Regions from separate parts of the Homo sapiens genome. Here region 2 is linked to region 1. Evidence: promoter capture Hi-C in human tissues and cell types (Jung and others, 2019). All regions are on one chromosome and are shown on one strand. The core of a region is centred on a gene start or on the middle of the fragment in contact, and the rest is flanking DNA. Distances in the headings are between cores, read along the strand shown. Region 1 holds the start of ALDH8A1 (aldehyde dehydrogenase 8 family member A1). Region 2 has its middle 30 kb from the start of LINC01010.

Region 1 (7,370 bases), core at 2,782-5,281:
CTCTTATACCTTGTTCCTCTCCTCACTCAGTTTTTCTAGCCTTCAGCTCTATCTCTTGGGGGATCCTGCAACCATCATCCCAAGACAGTGATCCCATTCTGAGCGCTAACCTTGGAGGGCAAGGGCACGTCCCCAGATTCCTCAGAGTGGAGCACATGCAACCAAAGAAACCTCTAGTGTTTCATATTGATAACCTTGCATAGGATAATTCTGACATGCGATTGTGCACAAAAGTTCCTCCTAGGAGTGAGGCTAAGAAGATTGGGGTTTGAGGGGCTGGCAAATGGGCAAGAGAACAACATCATGCCACATATAAGTGAGGGTAGTTATTCCTATAACAACAGCACTTTTCATTTTCATTCATTCTGTGTAATGTTTTCAGTAGGAGAGAAGGATTATAGAGGAGAGGACAGAGGCCAGAGAGCCAGAGAAAGTTCTTTTAAATTTTTGTTTATTATATTATTTTGTTTATATGATATGATATTGGAGAGAGGAGCTCATTTAAAGGCTGAAAGCGCCAGGAGAGAGGAGAAGAATGAAAAGTTAGATGATAATCCAGTGAGCAAGGTTCTTGTGGAGACAGAAGGAAAATGACGCCCCAGAACAGGTATTTATTTGGAATTACCATCTTGTCTGTCTTTCAACCTCCTCTCCATGCTTCTGTATCCATCCTCCCCTATCCTTCTCCAAATGAATGAACTCTGATGGCTCCATTTCACTCATGGCACTCTCTGTTCCCCATCCTGTGTTTCTCCTGAGTCTAGCGTACCCCTCCCAGCTGCCTCATGCTACCATGCTGTGATTTTTGTTTACCACTGTGGGTAAAAACAAAACTCCAGTACACCTGGGGCCCCCTAAATCAGGATTGTCTTTCCCCTTTTAAAGAGAATAACTTTTGTTGTATTAGATAAAAACACCCTATTCTCTTTTGTAATATTCTAGAGCAACTAGTTCTCTTAGAATATTAGTATACTTAATACCTCCCATTTATAATTTTTTCTCAGTTGCACTCAAGGTCTTGAGTCCCCTGTCCTCACTGTGCAGGACCTGGCAGTGAATCCACCCCTTGGGATGTGGTGGGGGGTGGATTCTGTGACCGCAAATGGGAGTACGTTTCACCCATGGGTCAGAATGCTGTTACAGGGATGTGGTAAGAACAGATCTGCATTCAGCAGGACACACTGGCGAGCAGATGGAGCCAGCCAGAATAATTCAGGAGCAGGTGATACCCACATGTCCAGTGAAGCAGGTAGAACTACCTAGAAGTAGGTTCTCAGCCACTAGGCCCAGATATAGGATTTCATGTCTCTTCAAGGGAAACCGACAGGAGAAACGTTGGTGCCAACTTAGAGAAAAGGCCTTGAAGGCATGTCAGAGCTCAGGTATCAGGACTGGGGTCAACTGACATGACCAGACTCTGAATGAGGCCCATGCTCTGTCCTCCAGGATGAAAGTCTCCCAGCTCAGCTGAGCTCTGATTCCAGAGTCATCTCTGTGGTTGACCTGCAGGTGGGGATCAAATGGTTGCACTGTGGACAGAAAAGGGCTGACAGGGGGAAGTGGGGGAAGGCCAAGTACATTATGAAAAACCAGCGAGGCCAGGCACAGTGGCTCACGCCTGTAATCCCAGCACTTTGGGAGGCTGAGGAGGGCGGATCACTTGAGGTCAGGAGTTTGAGAACAGCCTGACCAACATGGTGAAACCCCGTCTCTACTAAAAATACAAAATTAGCCAGGCGTGGTGGCACATACCTGTAATCCCAGCTACTTGGGAGGCTGAGGCAGGAGAATTGCTTGAACCCAGGAAGCAGAGGTTGCTGTGAGCTGAGATCATGCCATTGCACTCCAGCCCGGGCAACAAGAGTGAAACTCTGTCTCAAAAAAAAAAAAAGAAAAAGAAAAACCAGCGAAGGCCCAGCTTGAGCAGCCAATGGCACAAGAAAATGGCACAAGGAGGCCACTGTAACTGACAGACACGCCTGCTCTGCCACTGGGACTGATCTTGTGTGGGGAGTTCTGATCAGCACCAGGCACTCTTTAGAAGCACCGTGTCCGGCTTCTGTCCTCTTCTACTGTCACGTGGCAGAAAATTCCTCTCTCATGCTATCCTGGGTAAAGTCCTTTCTTCAAAAAGATCTCCCTTCCATAGTCCTCCCATTAGAATCTTTTGCACTCTGTACAAAAAGACAAACATTCTGATGAGTCCATCAACATTAGGCAGAGTTGTTGGAGACCCAGGAAGATGGGCTACAGAAGTCTTTATGCACACACCGGGTGGTACTCACTGTCTCTCAGCACCAAGCTCACTTCTTGGTACTTCACTCTGTGGTGCCAGGGCTGGGACCTGCGTATTTCTCTCATTCTGTTTCCAGCTGACCTGACCGTGGGCAGCACCAGAAAAAGCCTGAGACTACCTTCTGTCTCCAGTCCCTGTCAGCGACTCTCCAGCGACAGGCAACGGCGCCAGCTCCAGACTCCAGCTGCTCTGGGCCTCCCAGAATCAGCCACACCATGCTTGTCAGAAGTCTCAGCAAGAATTTTGGAGAATATCTAGAGACCAATAAAGATGGAAGCAGAGAGGGCCTAAGGAGGTGCACGGCCAGCAAGTGCCCTCATGTGATCAATGAATTTTAGAATATTGGTACCTAACCTTCAACTGAATTATAACTATAAATCATAATTATAAAAGTAATATAGGCTTGCCATAAAATATCCAAGCAGTTTAAAACGGCTTCCTGTCAACCATGTAAATAGCCAAAGAAACTATGCTGTATATATTATTCACTAGTTTTATTTTTTCACTTAACAATGCATCCTTCTAATGTCTAAGTAGTATTCCCTGTTAAGAATATAACAATTATACTCTAATATTCTCCAATTGATGGACTTTAGGTTGTTTTGATTTTTAAATTATGATAAAAAAGGATGTCCTGTGACTTATGTACTTGTTCATGAGCACGTAATTCTGTAGGAGAGATTCCTAGAAGAGAAATTGACCAGACCCTGACAAATTGCCCCAAGCAGTGTTCTGTGAACCCTCCCGCCTATGGACTAGGGATGATTCTCCACATCCTCACAGAGTAGATGTTCTCAATCTTTAAAAATGCTCTCCAGTATGATTGGCAAATCAGGCCACCTCTGTATTTCACATTCCTTGCTTAACAACAAGGCTGAACATTGTTAATATATTCATTAGCCAATTGTGTTCCTTTTCCTATGGATTGCTTTTTTGTATCTTTGCTTATCTTTTCTGTTGGGGTGCTCATTTCTCTTACCAATTTGTAGAAATTCTCAGCTACATCAGGGATCTGAAGCCCTTGCTATATGTGTCACACATGTTTTTGGCTTGTCTTTATCTCCATGGCACATCTAGGAAGATGTGAGCAGCCACTGTGGCCCCGGTTTTGGGATGGAGAGACAGCTCTTCCAAGAGAGGGCAGCCAAGGTAAAGAAACACAGATGAGCCACGGAAAGAGGGCATCTGTCTTCAGTTACCTCTGCAGGGTAAGCAGTGATGCATTGAGGAAAAAGTATATGATTTGGAGATTAAAGGGCTACAGTTCATCCCCTGCTAACTATGTGACCTTGGAAAAATGGTCTAACCTCTCCAAGGCTCAGTTTCTTCTATAAAAGAGAGGAAGTAATGGTTACTTCATATAGGATTGTTGTGTGGAATAAACGAGTAAATTCATGTAAAGGACTTGCTTTGGGGCCTGGCATCCAATCAGTGTTTGAGCAATGAACAGTTTACGGTGTGAACCCAATAAAATCACATGCACAGATGCCTTCTGATGATTTAAAGGGCTATGAACACATAAGTAAGTAGCTGTTACTTTTACACACAATTATCCATGTCAGGTAATGTACTAGAAGTCTGTGAAACATTCAGCCACTCTCTTAGTTCTGAGTTTGGAGACTGGAATGCTCTCTGAGAGCGTCAGGTGCCCTCCCACATTCACTGATTGGTAAAGGGGAAGATGGGGGCTGGGAAGGGGGAGGCTCACTCAGGAGTCCAGACAGTGGTGGGGACAACCTGAGTGCTCAGTCGTAAAGAGGAAAGGCAGAATTTTTCCTTGCTATGGCTGGAACAAACGCACTTTTGATGCTGGAAAACTTCATAGATGGAAAATTTTTACCTTGTAGCTCATATATAGATTCTTACGACCCATCAACAGGGGAAGTGTATTGCAGAGTGCCAAATAGTGGAAAAGACGAGGTGAGTATATGCACTTAAAGAAGACTGAAATGTGTTTAATATGTTGGCCAATTATGGGTAACAGTTTTCTAAAAGCAGAGGGAGTTGGGGGAAGATGTAGGATTGTTAAACATGATAGAAGGAAGATTCTAGTTCTCAGAAGATGTACCTTGTAACTGGACTGTATGATACCTAGAACAAATCTCTTCCTATATGCAGAAAGTAAGTCATTTTTCTAGCCAACCTAACACAGCCCTGTGTGCAGTTTTTTTTTGCAATTCTCAAACATTTCCTAATCAGTGTCTAGTACAAAGTATTATTTGTAAGAGCTATCACTTTGTTAAATATTCCCTTTTCTCCACCACGCACTGCTTAAATTTACCACTATATCCATGGAATTAAAAAAAAAGTATAGCTTTACTAAAATAAACAAACAAGCAAAAAACTGTGGGCTTTGTTTTAGATTGTCTTCTCATAATTTGTCATGTCTTCAAAATACCTAGTAAAATAAAATCAATCATTTGAATGATGAAACTCAAAATCAAATTCCCATATATTTTTGGAGTTAGATTTAACAGCGTCTTTTTTCTTATCCAAAGTGTTTAATGGCATATGCATTACATTTTTTTGGTGATGTAGAATTAATTTTACTTGGAGAATTTTGTAAAATATTTGAGATATATTTGATTAGCTATCAATTATTGCACTGAGAATGTAAATATATCTGAAGTGGTAAATGTAGCTGATGTATATATAGTCATCTAATGCCTTATGAATTATAATTTATTCTTTTTAAGGCACAAATAACTAGATTATTTAAAATATAGTCTTCCTATAAAAATATATATTCCATGCAAAGTTTTTTTTTAAGAACATTGCTATTTTTTTTCTTTTTTGTTAATACTTCAAATCTGTCTTGCATTTAAAGTAAACCTTCAGACTTAGGGATTAATGTTTGCAAATGTTGGTTAATGCATTGGTTAAATTATAAACTGCAATTTTGTTTGCTTCAAATGACTTAACACAGCTCTGGGAAATCCAGCTTTGTGTTTTCCACTCTTCCTTGTTTGCCAAAGTGAAGTTAAAAATGACAAACATGCCAAATTCAGCTGAAATATTTCCTGCAGCTAATGGCTCATAACTTTTTAGAAAATAGAATGAGCTATGGATGCGCTAGCTAGTAGAGTAATAGATATGTTCAGTTTCTCAGCAATCCAACTTCCAAATATCCTATCTGATCCCATAAGTCATAGTTTTTTCCGGCTTGAAAAATATGGTTACCATACAAACTGCATGTCCAATTTCCAAAACATCACTCAGGAAAATGTTGCTGGTGCTGCTAACAGTGGCTCCCGTTTATTCAACTTTTGCTTTGTGCTTTGCAGTCATTAAGCCCTTTTTTAACAAAAAATTAAAAAATTGATACATAATAATTGTACATCTTTATGGGCATATGTGACATTTTGATACATGCATACAATGTGTCATGATCAAATCAGGGTAATTAGGATCTCCATCACATTAAACATTTATCATTTCTTGGTGTTGGGAACATTCCAAATCTTTTCTTCTAACTATTGTGAAATATACAATAAATTATTGTTAACTATTGTCACTCTACTAGAACTTATTCCTTTTAACCATATTTTTGTATTAATTAGCCAACCTCTATCCTCTCCTCTACCCTTCCCAGCCTCTGGTAACCATAATTGTACTCTCTACCTCCATGAGATCAACTTTTTTAAGCTTCCACATATGAGTGAGAACATGTAATATTTGTATTTTTGTGCCTTGCTTACTTCACTTAACGTAATATCCTCCAGCTCAAATCGTGTTGGTGCAAATGACAGGATTTTGTTCCTTTTTATGGCTGAATAATATTCCATTGTGTATATATACCATATTTTCTTTATCCATTCAGCTGTTGATGGACATTAGGTTGAGTCCATATCTTGACTATTGTAAATAGTGCTTCAACAAATATGGGGGTACAGGTATCTCTTCAGTATACTGATTTCCTTTTCTTTGGATAAATTTCCAGTAGTGGGATTGCTGGATCATACTGTTGTTCTATTTTTATTTTTTTTTTTTTGAGAAACCTACATGCGTTTTCCATAATGGCTGCACTAATTTACTTTCCCACCAACACTGTATTTGTCTTCCCTTTTTTTTTGCAGCTTCACCAGCCTTTTTTATTTCTTATTTTTTGATAATGACCATTTTAACTGGGATGAGATAATAACTCGTTGTGGTTTTGACTTGCATTTCCCTAATAATTAGTGATGTTAAGCATTTTTTATATACCTGTTGGCCATTTGTACATCTTCTTTTTGTGGAATATCTCTTTAGATCATTTGCCCGTTTTTAAATTGGATTTTTTGGGCGGTGGCTATTGAGTTGTATATGTATATATACAAGCTCAAGCTCCTTATATATTCTGGTTATTAATCCCTTGTCAGATGGATAGTTTGCAAATATTTTCTCCCATTCTGTAGGTTGCCTCTTAACTCTGCTGTTTCTTCTGTTGTGCAGAAGCTTTTTAGCTTGATATTATTTTATTTTGTTTATTTATTTTCTTTTGTTGCCTGTGCTTTTGAGGTCTTGCCCAAAAAAATCTTTGCCCAAATCAGTGTCATGAAGTATTTACCCTATGTTTTCTTATAGTAGTTTCATAGTTTTGGGTCTTACATCTATCTAAGTCTTTAATCTGTTTTGATTTGTTTTGGTGAGAGATAGGGGTCTAGTTTCATTCTTCTGCATATGGTTATCCAGTTTTCCCAGCACCATTTATTGGAGAGACTATGTTTTCACCAATGCATATTTTTGGCAGCTTTGTAAAAAACGAGTTGGCTGTAAATGCATGGATTTATTTCTGGATTCTCTATTCTGTTTCACTGGTCTATGTGTCTGTTTTTACACCAGTGCCATGCTACTTTGGTTACTATAGCTTTGTAGTATATTTTAAAGTCTGGTAGTGTGCAATCAGTAAGCCCTTTAATATAGATTATCCAAAGAAGCGAGTTGTAACAACTTAGAAGTCTCTATTATGATCCTTATTTTACAGAGGACAGTACTAACACTCTCATCTCTGATGCTTAGATCCATGGGCATGTGCACCTGTGCGTGCACGCACACATGCGCACCTGTGCGCGCGCGCACACATGCGCACCTGTGT
Region 2 (7,370 bases), core at 3,646-6,145, 540 kb after region 1:
CTTTTGCTTCTGTGGCATGTTATGATGTGGTACTAAAGCCCTTGCCAGAAGCTGCCACCATGCTCTTGGGCTTCCCAGCCTCCAGAACCATGAGCCAAATAAACGTCTTTTCTTTATAAATTACTCAGTCTCAAGTATTCTGTTATAGCAACAGAAAACAAAGACAGAAAATTGCTACCAAGAAGTGAAATTGTTGCTAGAATAAATGTCAGAAAATGTGGAAATAGCTTTGGAACTGGGTAATAGGTAGACACTGAAAGAATTTGGAGAAATAGGCTAGAAAAAAAGCCTGTATTTCTGTGAATGCAGCATTAAGGACAGTTCTGGTGAGAGCTGAGAAGAGAAGATTAGGGATAATCTGAAACTCTTAAGTGATTGCTTAAGTGGTCACAATTGGACTGTCAGTAGAAAAATGGACAGTAAAGGCAATCCTGATGAGGTCTCAGAGGGCACTGGGAAATAACATATCAGAAATTGGAGTAAAGGTCATCTTTGTTAAAACATAGCAAAGAATTTGGCTGCACTGTGTCCATGCCTGAGGGCTTTACGGAAGGCAGATTTTAAGAGTGACAATCTAGGCTATCTGGCAGAAGAAATATCTAAGCAGCAAAGCACTCAAGCTGCTGCACAGCTACTTTTAACTGCTTATAGTAAGATGCTAGAGAAAACAAATTATTTAAGGATGGAATTTATAATTAAAAGGGAAGCAGAGCAGAAAAACTTGGAAAATTCTCAGCCTGGCCATGTAAAAAACTATAAAGCATGCCAGGATGTGGCCAGGCAACCATTTACTGAAGAGATTAGTACAGATAGAAGGAAACCATGGGCTGTTCCTCAAGACAATGGGAAAAAAGACCCCAGAGGCATTTCAGAGATCTCCAAGGCTGCCCCTCCTATCACAGGCTGAGCTCTAGGAGGGCAAAATGGTTTTAGGGGATAGACCCAGGACACCCTTCATTGGATTACTGCCCAGGGCTGTCTCAGGTCTCTGCTCTCTGCATCCCAGCACGGCACCCCTTGGCTGTGCTAGCCATGGCTTGAGGAGGCCCAGGTGTGGCTCAGGCCACAGCTTCAGAAGATGCAAACAGCAAATTTTGGTGGCATCCACATGATGTTAAGTCTGCAGGCATGGAGAATGCAAGAGCTGTGAGAACATGGCTTCCTCTATCTAGATTTAAAAGGTTGTCACAATCACCCAGGAGGCTGGGATTACAGGGATGAGCCATTGCGCCTGGCTGAGGAAAACTTTCTAAGACAGATGGGAGAGTAACATTATTTGTGAAGATGTTGTCTTTGATGAACGGTTGGCATGGACTGTGAAACTGATGAACTTAATTTTTACCAACTATGAACACCCATAATCCACATTCACCTGATTCTAATTAGTTATGTTTAACTTTGGGGCTGGGTGCTGTGGCTCATGCCTGTCATCCCAGCACTTTGGGAGGCCGAGGTGGGCAGATTAACTGAGGTCAGGAGTTCGAGACCAGCCTGGCCAACATGATAAAACCTCATCTCTACTGAAAATACAAAAATTAGCCAGGCATACTGGCATGCGCCTGTAATCCCAGCTATTCGGGAGGCTGAGGCAGGAGAATCGCTTGAACCCAGGAAGCGGAGGTTGCGGCGAGCTGAGATCGCGCCACTGCACCAAGACTCCATCTCAAAAAAATTAAATAAATAAGTAAATAAATTTGGTCAACATACACACATGCACACACACACAGACTTCTGTTTTGGAACTTATGACAAATGATAGCTTTTTAAAATTTTTTTCCCTACTTTTTAACTTTCTTCTTAACAGTTTTGGTTTCCGATAAACAAATCAGGAGGTTGAAAGATTTGGATCGGCCACAGAAATTACATTCCATTTCTAGAGCCATTTCACCAGCTGCACCTGCAAGTCATATTAACTAGCAAATGGCAAAACTGGTAATGAAACTCCATGCACATAAAAAAACTGACATCTGATGCTGATAGCATTCTCTTAATAAATCACCTCTCTCAGGCCGGGCATTTACTACAAAAGGATTGCAAGACCCAGAGAATGACAACATCTATTATAGGTTGAACTGAATCAGGGTACTAAAGAGCTAAAAAGGGTAGCTCCTCTGCAATGAAGCCAATGAAATGGTTGAAGAGGCAAGAGAATCTGCTCTTCTTATAAAGAGATGCCCTAGATCAATCAATTAGCCTGTTCCTACCAGTTACTTTTATGATAGATGCTATGCATTGCCTTGCTCTTTACCCACTCCAGGCCCCTGTGAAAGTTGCAAGGCCAGAAAGCTGATACCACATCTGCCAATCGTCTGCAGTGCAGCTCTCCATGTGCTTTGGGCACTTCCAGTTAGATGCATGCACACAAAACTTTGATCTAGAACTGAGTCACATGGGGATAAAGGCAGGGTACAGGCACTCACTTTGCTGGTGTAGACTGTAGCAGAGAGGCGTGGATTTGCACCTGGAAGGTAAGGTGGCGATTTCTTTATTTCATAGCTTCCTGATCAATATCTGTCACCTCTACGCACCATCCTTAATGGTCTGGTTCTGCAGTGTGGTTTGAGGCTCATTTCTGGCAAATCAGCCTGAACCCATTTCCTCAGATCTCTCAATAGTTTGGGAATTATTTATACTTCCTAGGACATACCATTCTGCTTATGCTAGCTGGAGAAGATTCTATTCTCTGCAATAAAAATATTGATCAAGATATTGAATAACCCAAATTAAGCTTTCTTGAAGCCTGTAACTTTGAAACCTGTTACAACTAGAGAAGTGAATAGTCCTACATTTCTTCTGAAATTCCCTACAGTCCATGAGAAGAGAAGGAGACCAGGGAAAGAAAAGAGTCACAAATAGTTGGAAATGGTAATGCTTGGATTGTTGGATCGCCAAAGGCCATTTTATATCTTCTGAATTTTCTGCCTAAAGATTATTGGTTTAATATCTATCTTCCCTCTTAGACTGTAAACTCTGTAAGAATGGAGGCCATATTTGTTTAATCAACACTAAATATGATACCTAGCATACATCTGGCTTATAGTAAATGCACAATAAACAATGTGTAACTGTCTAAAGTAGTAGAAGTGTGTTTGTTCAATAATGTCAATTGTTACTATTTATCCAGCTAATCACTAAGAGACTAGTCATTTTACATATAGTCACTCACTCCTTTATAGAGTAGGTTTTATTACCTTCATTTTTCACACAAAGAGACTGAGTCTCAACAAAGTCAAGTAAGAATCATAGCTACTGGTTGAGTTTTTATTCAAATTCAAGAAGTCTGATTTCAAAATCCATGATGCAGTTCCTATTACACGCCACATATTCAGTTTTAGGGATTCAGTGCCTTTCCAGGCAACTATGAATTGCCTCATAGTGGCTTCATCATCTAGGTCCTGGCATAGGTCCTGGGTCCTCTGTAGAACCCACAGCTTCTACACCTTCATCGGTCCACAGGAAAAGCTTTCAGAAATATTACTGGCATTTGGCTGCATCCAAGTGTGAAGATATCCCTCATGTCAGGTGCTTCTCCTTCGCATTCATAACCTCATACCTGGAAACCTATACCTGTCCTTCTTGAGGCTAAAAACCAGGTTGTCTTTACCCTTGAAATTCCTTGGTGTTTCTGTCAAACAAATTCTGAGGATACCAACAGTAATTTTCCATGCAGGAATTCTTTCATAGAAAACTTATTTTGCTCAAGAATTGTTTCTGCAGTGCAGTCATATTCACCTTGAGAGCACTTTCAGACTTAAAAACTCTTTTTAAAGTCAATGCAACACAAAAGGAACTTGCTTGATGCTGTCACTTTCTTATTCATTCATCTATTCATGCATTTACTCAACAAATATTTATACAGCCTCCAATACTTGTCAGATATTGTTCTGGAAGTTCCACTTAAATGTAGTAATTTAATCCTTCAAATTACTACAATAAAACTATGAAGACTGAGACACACTATTTTGTAGTAGGCATTTTGGATGGTTACATCTTTGGAAGCCTGAATCCTGCTTGTTTGCAGTTCATTTCTTGTAGGAACATTTGGATTAAGCTTAATCGTAGAAATCTGTGTGCACCACTAATTTGCCTGTGACTTATTACCATCCTCTTTTATATGAAAGTGTCCCTTGACTACGTATCAAGTCACGCTCGTTCAAAAACATGCCCACAGTATCTGACATAAAATCTAACATTTTAAGTATAATATTATTACCTCTTTGTTTTCTGAAGCTTCATAAGCCCTGATGCCAAATACATTAACAAATTTTATGTAAACCGAATGTTTATTCTCTCCTGTTCATCAAAGCACAGGCACTGATACAAAGAAGAAAGGAAAATGCCAACTTACAGATTTTATTTTTTATTTATTTATTTTTCTTTTCTTTTATTTATTTATTTTTTGTGAGACAGAGTCTCGCTCCGTTGCCCAGGCTGGAGTGCAGTGGCATGATCTGGGCTCACTGTAACCTCCACCTCCCTGGTTCAAGCAATTCCCTGCCTCAGCCTCCCGAGTAGCTGGGATTACAGGCGTGTGCCAGTGCGCCTGGCTAATTTTTGTATTTTCAGTAGAGATGGGGTTTCACCATCTTGGCCAGGCTGGTCTTGAACTCCTGACGTCGTGATCCACCCAGCTCGGCCTCCGAAAGTGCTGGGATTACAGGCGTTAGCCACCGCACCTGGCCAGAAGAGTTTAAATGAGATATTTTTGCTGGGACCATTTTAAAAAAGATCAGCTTTCTTTGACCTTTTCACCCAGCTGTCTACCTGAGATGGAAACATAGACTCTGGCTGATGACTCATTACAGATTCAAGTCCAGGTGGAGATCAAACTCAAGCAAAGGATCATTGTAGTTATACCTGAAGGAAAAGTCACAGTGGTTCAAGGTCTATTAGAAAGGTTATAACTTGCCCATAAAAATTTAGCTTGGGGCTGAAATATGGCATATGAGTTTCCAGTCCGTAAGTTCTTTAAAATCTGAAAACTCAATTAGATACTTCCAAATTAAATGACTGTTAATAGGCAGAGAATTGCATTTTGATGTTTAAAAATTTCTTGCCCGAACACTTCGGAGACATTTTAATGTTTAAAAATATGGTGTAGCAATTAAAGCCCAGTAAGAAATCTAAAATGTCAGTTCAACCCAGCTTCTTACTTGCACCGTATTACCACTTCCTTGACTATGAGAGATACTTCTTAATATTTCTGGGCTGGCATTGTCTAAATGAAAAACTGTGATAATATTTACCTCTTCCCAGAAAGTGTCAGGTAACCAATTTAATGACTCTACTTCTCTTTTCAAGTTCAACTAATGTATGAAGGAAGAGACCAATACAGAATCTCTTTTCACCTCCCAGGTCCTCTGTGGTAACTGAGTGTAGACCCAGCCAACCTCTCAGAAAATAGGAAGCCTCTGCGCTACTCTCATTCCTGCATATTTAAAGCCAGAAAGGAATTTTTCCTTTTGCTAATTCCCAGCAGAGACAGGTTCGTGCCTTAGAAAGAATAAAGGATTTAAGAGTTGTATCGACTTGGGTTTGAAGTTGAGCTCCCACTTTCTAGATGTGTGTACTGTTTTCATGTTTGCAAAGTAGGGTTTTTGTTTGTGAGGGATGAATAAGTACATGAGACATGCCCAGTGCTCAGTAGACAGTCAATGGCAGCTGCAACAGTGAACCCCCAGTGGAAGAGTTCAACTCCGTAACAACCCACTGGCCAGCCTTGCAGGTCTCCTCCAGGCCTTGGGGAAGCCTCTCAACCCAGAAAGGCCAAATTCATGCAGGTAGGTGACTTTGCTCACCCTCATGCCGAGAAGCAAAATAATTGATTTAGATTGGAGAAATATACTCAGACATTGCTTCAGAGAAGATGTTCCAAGAATGAAGGGTATTTTCATTTTCTGGCAGTATAATGGCGTGATTTCCCAACCAGGAGCATGGCTTTTCTTTTCCTAAATAATTAGCTTCATAATAATTTCTAATATGAATTTGCTTATTTAATGGGAATACAATGCGCAATTCTGTATTTCTTATTAATACTCTAAGGAACAATAATAGTCAAAGCTTGGAAAGCTTATTAAGACTAATACCCAGTTGTGGTTAAATGCATTAAAAAGCCTTAGTAAAGAATCTGCACTATTGATCCCATTCACAGTCTCAGCTTTTGCAGAGGGTCCATTAAGGCACAGCATGTTATCAATGCAAATTAGTCCCCAGTGTGCAGCTCTTCTCCACTTTAAAAGGAGGAGGCCTGAAACTGAGGCTGAAATATTTTGGAAATTGCTAAATAATTATAGCTTTTTTCTTTCTCTTCTTTCCATATTTTATATAATTCACTTTTATAGAGTTTTCAATGTTCAGTGTCTCATGTGCAAACAACAATTATCCAAATTGATTAATAGGAATATAATGAAATGTACTTTTTCATATATCTTAAAAAATTGTTTTATCTTCCTCCCTATGGGCCTAATGTGAATGAATAACAGACACTAGACGAAGTTATATACTAAGAAAATTTGTATTACTGGATCTTCATGGCCCAACATTCTATTTATCAAGAAAACAAAATGTGCAGTAGACTGTTCATCTGTACAAGAACCAGCCTATCTAATTAATTATTCGTTTCATTCCCCAATGAGTAGCCTATCAGAAATATATATGCATATATGTATATTATATATTTTTACTAGATATATATTTATATAAATATATATTTATATATACTAGATATATAGAATATATATATTCTATATATATATTCTATATATAGATATATATATTCTATATATATATCTATATATAGATATATATATTCTATATATATATTCTATATATAGATATATATAGACTAGACATATCTATATATATCTATTCTATATATATAGGTATATATAGAATATATATATACCTATATATATTCTCTCTATATATATACTCTCTATATATATACAGAGAGAGAAAGAGATAGAGTTTATATATATACATAGAGAGTATATATATATATATATATATATATATATATATATATACACACATACAGAGAGAGAGAGAGTTTTCAATGTTCAGTGCCTCATGTGCAAACAACAATTTTCCAAATCATATATATATATATGAGACATGGGACAGGGTCTTGCTCTGTCACCCAGGCTGAAATGCAGTGGCACCATCATAGCTGACTGCAGCCTAGAACCTCTGGGCTCAAGGGATCCTCCCTCAGCCTCCCAAGTAGCTAGGACTACGGGAACATGCCACCAGGTCTGGCTTATTTTTTGTTAATTGTAGAGCTTTTTTTTTTTTTTTTTTTGCTTGAGAGCATTAGATAAGCTTTTTTCCTTAATAGCTTTTTTATTGAGATAAAATTCACATAATATAAA

Evidence for each region. Contacts are between HindIII fragments. The study calls those that stand out against the background at their distance.
Region 2: a fragment that was not itself captured here is called in contact with the fragment with the promoter of ALDH8A1 in region 1 in 1 of the 25 tissues and cell types used here (adrenal gland).

What each region holds. Positions count from the first base shown.
Region 1 is chr6:134,946,762-134,954,131 of GRCh38, reverse strand. It overlaps ALDH8A1 (aldehyde dehydrogenase 8 family member A1), which reads left to right and starts at 4,031. Exons shown (of 7, transcript NM_022568.4): 1 at 4,031-4,216. The coding sequence starts at 4,079. The HindIII fragment of the contact is 10,358 bases long and covers 1-6,336 here.
Region 2 is chr6:134,403,938-134,411,307 of GRCh38, reverse strand. No RefSeq gene overlaps it. Among named protein-coding and RNA genes, the nearest start is that of LINC01010, 30 kb to the left of the region's middle. The HindIII fragment of the contact is 3,600 bases long and covers 3,096-6,695 here.